Linked DNA regions of Homo sapiens: region 1 is linked to region 2. Evidence: promoter capture Hi-C in human tissues and cell types (Jung and others, 2019). All regions are on one chromosome and are shown on one strand. Each heading gives the region's core, a stretch centred on a gene start or on the middle of the fragment in contact. The rest is flanking DNA. Distances are from core to core; before and after follow the strand shown. Region 1 overlaps NRF1 (nuclear respiratory factor 1). Region 2 holds the start of STRIP2 (striatin interacting protein 2).

Evidence for each region. Contacts are between HindIII fragments. The study calls those that stand out against the background at their distance.
Region 1: a contact is called between a fragment that was not itself captured here and the fragment with the promoter of STRIP2 in region 2, in 2 of the 25 tissues and cell types used here (IMR-90 fibroblasts and thymus).

Annotation. Positions count from the first base shown.
Region 1 is chr7:129,623,394-129,626,200 of GRCh38, forward strand. All of the region lies in intron 1 of NRF1 (nuclear respiratory factor 1), which reads left to right. Among named protein-coding and RNA genes, the nearest start is that of NRF1, 13 kb to the left of the region's middle. The HindIII fragment of the contact is 7,216 bases long and covers 1-2,807 here.
Region 2 is chr7:129,433,019-129,435,757 of GRCh38, forward strand. STRIP2 (striatin interacting protein 2) reads left to right here and starts at 1,414. Exons shown (of 21, transcript NM_020704.3): 1 at 1,414-1,583. The coding sequence starts at 1,455. RefSeq lists a silencer at 1,294-1,773. The HindIII fragment of the contact is 3,182 bases long and covers 1-2,512 here.

The DNA.
Region 1 (2,807 bases), core at 168-2,667, 190 kb after region 2:
GCATTATCTCTAGGGAATTCAAAAGATTTTGTATAGATAAAATATAAATATTCAAAATGCTGTGTAATCCAACTCATACACTCAGTGAAATATGTGATATATATAATTCTAATTCTGTGTAAAGAATAACTGGAACTTTCTCAAAGGTATCTTTCTTAAAAAATTTATATGGTAGAATCCTATTTAGAGCTAGTAGTGTAACCCAATTTTCCTGCCTACTCATTTAATTCTGTTTTTAATCCCTCTGGTAACTGATTTGTTTTTGTTTTTATTTTTTATACAAAATGGAAAGCAAATCTAGGGTAAATCATTTCTTAGTGACTGCATTTAGTATCTAAACTAATGTCATTTTTTTCTCTTAAGTATAGTAAAGCCTGTAGAGGTGACGATGACAAAGTCCGACTTGTTTATTCTCTTCCCTTCTACTTTGAAAGATTAAGATCTTTTCCAAAAGAAGAACTTTTAGAATGTATGCTTCACAAGATTCTTAAATCAGTATCTTCCAGACATGGCGGGAGGTAGAGAATCTGAGAATAAAAAGTGCAAACTTTTTCTCTCTTAAACTTCTGTATCTGAAAGGTATGAAAGCAAGAGCTAATTCTCACTTGAGAATCCACCACAATGATTGCTTTCATTCTGAAGAAATCCATTTTGTAGCCAGATGGTATGGTATTTTCCATCCGAGAATACAGAACCTGTGGATATGGAGGCCCAGCTGAAAGGGACATGAGCATCTGTGGATTTTGATTCACCCCCAGATACCAAAGGATGACTAAATCCATCAGGTCTCTGCTCAAACATCATTTCCTTAGGGAAGTTTTACCTGGTCTCCCTCTTTTTTGCGTTTTTCCTTCATCATAGGTGGTCATATATATATAATTTTACATTTGTTTGCATATTGCTTGATATATGTCTGTTCCACCAGATTGTAAGCTTCGTGAGAGTAGATACTGTGTTGGTGTTCATTACCAAGCACAGTGCCTGAGACATAGCAAGCAGTATTTATTTGAATGATTGTAGAAACCTGGCGAAACTCATTTGTAATATTTTACTTTACTTAGGCTTTTGTGGTACTATCTAACATTTTATAATTTTAGGAACTCAGGATGGGAAGAGATTCTAAATCATCTAAGAAAGCTCTGCTCTCCAAAGTTAAAAGTCTTCAGTCTCTTCTTGAACACATCCAGTGATAGGAAACGTAACCACCTACCAAAAGTCTGGTTGGTCTTTAAGATATTTGGATGGTTGGAAAGTTTTCCCAACTGAAATTTCTCCCTGAGCCTTTTTATTATTATTATTATTTTTTGGAGACAACGTCTCTGTGTTGCCCAGGCTGCTCTCAGACTCCTGTGCTGAAGGGATCCTCCTGCCTCAGTCTCCCAAGTGGTATCCCTAAAATTTTTACCTACTGATTTTACTCTGTTCTCTAGGGCTTGCAAAAGCAAGTATAGTTTTCATTTTCCTTATTGTCCGAGTCGTCCCTATTTTAGTTTACATATCCCTAGATCCTTCAACCTTGGGAAGGCAATAGGGAATGCTGGAGAGAGAGAGTTTGTGGACTGCATTCGTTTCCTGGGGCTGCCATAAAACCACAAACTTAGTGGTTTCAAGAAACAGAAATGTATTCTCTCACAGTTCTGGAGGCTAGGAGTCTGGAATCAAGGTGTTCACAGGGTGGCGCTCCCTCAGGAGACTCTGGGGGAGAATCTGTTCTTTGTCTCTTCCAGCCTTTGGTGGCATTCCTTGACTTGTGGCTACATCACTCCAGTTTCTGCCTCCATGGTCTCATTGTCTCCTCTCCGTGTAATCTCTATCTGCTTCACCCTTAAAAGGACACTTGTCACTGGATTTAGAACCCACCTAGATATTTCAGGATGATCTCAAGATCCTTAGTTACATCTCTAAGGACGCTTTCTTCAAGTGAGGTAGTATTCACAGGTGCCAATGGTAAGCATGTGAACATATCTTTTTGGGAGCCACAGTCCAACCCACTATAGGAGCTCTGGGCTTAAATTCTGTTAATGTCACTTACTAAGTTTGCAACCTTGAGCATGTTATTTAACTTTTCTGAGTCTGAATCATCTTAATTTTATTTATTTATTTATTTTTAAATTTATTAGTTTTTTAGAAACAGTCTCTTTCTGTCTCCCCAACTGGAGTGCAGTGGCTCAGTCATGGCTCACTGTTGCCTTAAACTCCTGGGCTCGGGCAGTCTTCCTGTGTTAGCCTCCTGAGTAGCTGGGACTGCAGGCATGTGCCACCATGCCCGGCTAATGTTTTAATTTTTTTTTTTTTTTTTTTTTTTTGAGACGGAGTCTCGCTCTGTTGCCCAGGCTGGAGTGCAGTGGTGCGATCTCAGCTCACTGCAAGCTCTGCCTCCCGGGTTCACGCCATTCTCCTGCCTCAGCCTCCCGAGTAGCTGGGACGTCGGGTGCCTGCCACCACACCTGGCTAATTTTTTGGTATTTTTAGTAGAGATGGGGTTTCACCATGTTAGCCAGGATGGTCTTGATTTTCCGACCTTGTGATCCACCCGCCTTGGCCTCCCAAAGTGCTGGGATTACAAGCATGAGCCACCACACCCAGCCCCATGTTTTAATTTTTGTTTTAGAGACAGGGTCTTACTGTGTTGGCCAGGCTGGTCTCAAACACCTGGCTTCAAGTGATCCTCCCACCTTGGCCTGCCACAGTGCTGGGATTACAGGCATGAGCCACCATCCCTGGCTGAATTGCCTTAATTTTAAGACAGGGACAATAATGCCTTTATTATTGATTTGTGAAGATATAAGGAAAATTCATATTAAATA
Region 2 (2,739 bases), core at 164-2,663:
AGAGAGAGAGAGATGTTAAGAAAGGGACAGGGTTGTCCCTAAGGTATGGGAAGGTGGAGTAATTCCTCTAGGCCCTTTGCTTTGGGTATATCGTGGAAAATGTTAGGATTTTGGATCTAGGCAGAACTGGTTTGACACCAACACAACCTGAATGAGTTGAGGGCTAAAAGGAAAGCTTTGTGGAGGAGGAGGAGGTGACAACTAACTAGAATCTTTATGAGAGAAAAGGAATCAACCAGGAGAACAGAAGACAGTCTCCTCCAGAGAACAGCATAGGCAAGACCCTGAGACAAGATAGAATATGATACCTTGGAAACCGCAGGGAGGAATCTGCAAGTGCCGGTTTCTTCATCAGTAACATTGGATTCGTAAAAACACCCTGTCGGGGAGAGGTATGATGTGATATTTGGAAAGCGCTTACTGCAGTGCCTGGCACCAAGCTCAGTTCAACAATCCCCCAGACCCTTCCTAAAGCAACCAGGCTGGGGACAGCGATTTGGTCCCACCTGTTCCCCTGAGCCTACGTCTTTGGGGCTTCTATTACCAAGCCAGACTGTCTAAATATTTACTACAAGCTACTTTTTAAATTCAGGAGAGGGCAGATCAAACAGCCTCTTTTGCCCCCAGTAACAATGAGCCCTTAGGAAGCATCTAAGAGAGAGGAAGGAAAGAAAGGACTGGCGAGCAGGTGAGGGTGGGGGCTTGCTCTACCCTCAACATTTACACACCATGAGGAAGAGGCCCCCTACAGCAGAGAAGGGCAGATGACAGGAGCAGCCCTCGAGGGCACCACCAATTTCAGTGATGGAAAAACTCCCCCATCCCACCCTTAGACCTCCAGTCTCCCAGCCAAGCCCTAGCTCCGGGCGAGATGCGTTCTCTTCAGAAAAACGCTGAGAATTCTCAGCTTCCAGAGACAGCGAGTCCCTCGTTTCGGGCGATGTCCCTGGCCACCTGGCGGTGCCATCCCTCCCCTGAGACTAAGCGGGATATGGGACGTGTGCAGGAGCCGGGATATGGGGGGCCGGGTCGGTGGTAACAGGGAAACGGAGACTGCTGTGGAGCAGTAGGCGGAGACTAGAGCTCCGGAAAAGGTCGCTACAGGGACGGGGGTGAGAGCTGAGAGACACCGAGTGAGGAGCACAGAGATAACCCGCCTGATCTCAAGGCCCAGCTTTCGCGAGGTGTGGAGCCTGTAGCTAACCTAGGAGTCTCCGTCCGCCAGCAATGCCGCAGGACTAAAAAGATCCCCTCAAAAATCTCTTCATTGAGCCCCCACCTCCTCGAGTCCCGCTCCGGCCGGTCGAGCAGCCAATCGCCTCGCGGGGCGGGGTTGCGGCGAGCTGCCGTAACCAATAGAGGTGGAGGGGGCGGGGCCTGGCTCCCGGCGCGCGGCGGTAGGGTCGCCTCCGGCAAAGCGAGCTGAACCCTGAGGGGAGCCGCTGACCAGCAGCATGGAGGACCCCGCCGCGCCTGGGACCGGGGGCCCGCCCGCAAATGGCAATGGCAACGGCGGCGGCAAAGGGAAGCAGGCGGCGCCCAAGGGCCGCGAAGCGTTCCGAAGCCAGCGGCGGGAGTCAGAGGTGAGGAGCCCGGAAAGCTTCGGCTGGGGCCCGGAGACGCCCGCCGGCGGGAAGCGGCGGCTGAGGTGATTCGGCCTCGGCCCCGGAGCCCTCGGCGCGCTCGATCAGCCCCGCGCAGTGGGCGCCTGCGGGGTCCTAGCGGCTGAACTCTGGGCTCTTTGGCCCGGACCAGTGTCCGCCCGTCTCCTGCCGCGGGTTGGGGGCTTTCTAGCCCTCTGGCTTTCCCCCGCTGCGCGAAGATGAGCGCGGTATTGAGCGGACCAGATACTTTCCAAATATTTATCTCACTTAATCGCTGCAGCCCCCTGAAGCAGAAATTCCGATCCCAGTTTATAGACGGGGGAACAGGAGCGGAGAGGTTAAGTGACTGGCTTGAGGGGTGGGAGGCTGGAGCTCAGCCGCAGGAAAGCAGGATTGGCGAGTGGGGCAACCGCAGTCCCCCTCCCAGGCTGCCTGCGGCGGGCCCCTGGGCCAGCCGAGGGACTTCTGCCCGTTCCCTGCCCGTCCCCTTCCCCCCGTAAGTCTTAGGCCGTTTCGGGAGCGCCTTCCGCGGACATCAGGCCCCTGCCTGTGAGGGCTGAGCGAGACGGGATTCAGGCAGGGGCAGTCCTGGAGTGGCTATCTGGAGGGAGCAGTCGCAGGATACAGATAGGAGTGTGAATATTTCGATCTCTTCCTCCTCTCCTGAAAAAAGAAACCCTATCTATGAAGATGAAAGCGTTGAATTATTATCACTTCCCTATCCCCTCATTGAGGCAGTTCCCATCAGTTGGATCTGAGCGGGGATCAGAATAGACGACAAAATATCAGATGTGGCAGGGTCTGCAGATATCATCTGGTATAACCCTTTCATTTTACAGACCTAAAAAAAAGAGGAGTGACTTGCCCAAGATCAGACATCTGGCATAGTTGGTGGTCAAGAACACCAGACTTTGGAGTAGTCAGACCAGGTTTTGACTCCTAGCCCTATCATTTACTACCTGTGTGATTTTCGGCACATTACGGAACCTCTCTGAGCTCCAGTTTCTTCATCTGTAAGATGAGATTAACACTGCCTACCTCAGAAGGTTGTGATAAAGTCAAAATGAGATAATTGACTATAAAATGTTTGGCACAGTGCAGGCACAATGCATGTAATTAGTCAGTACATAGTAAC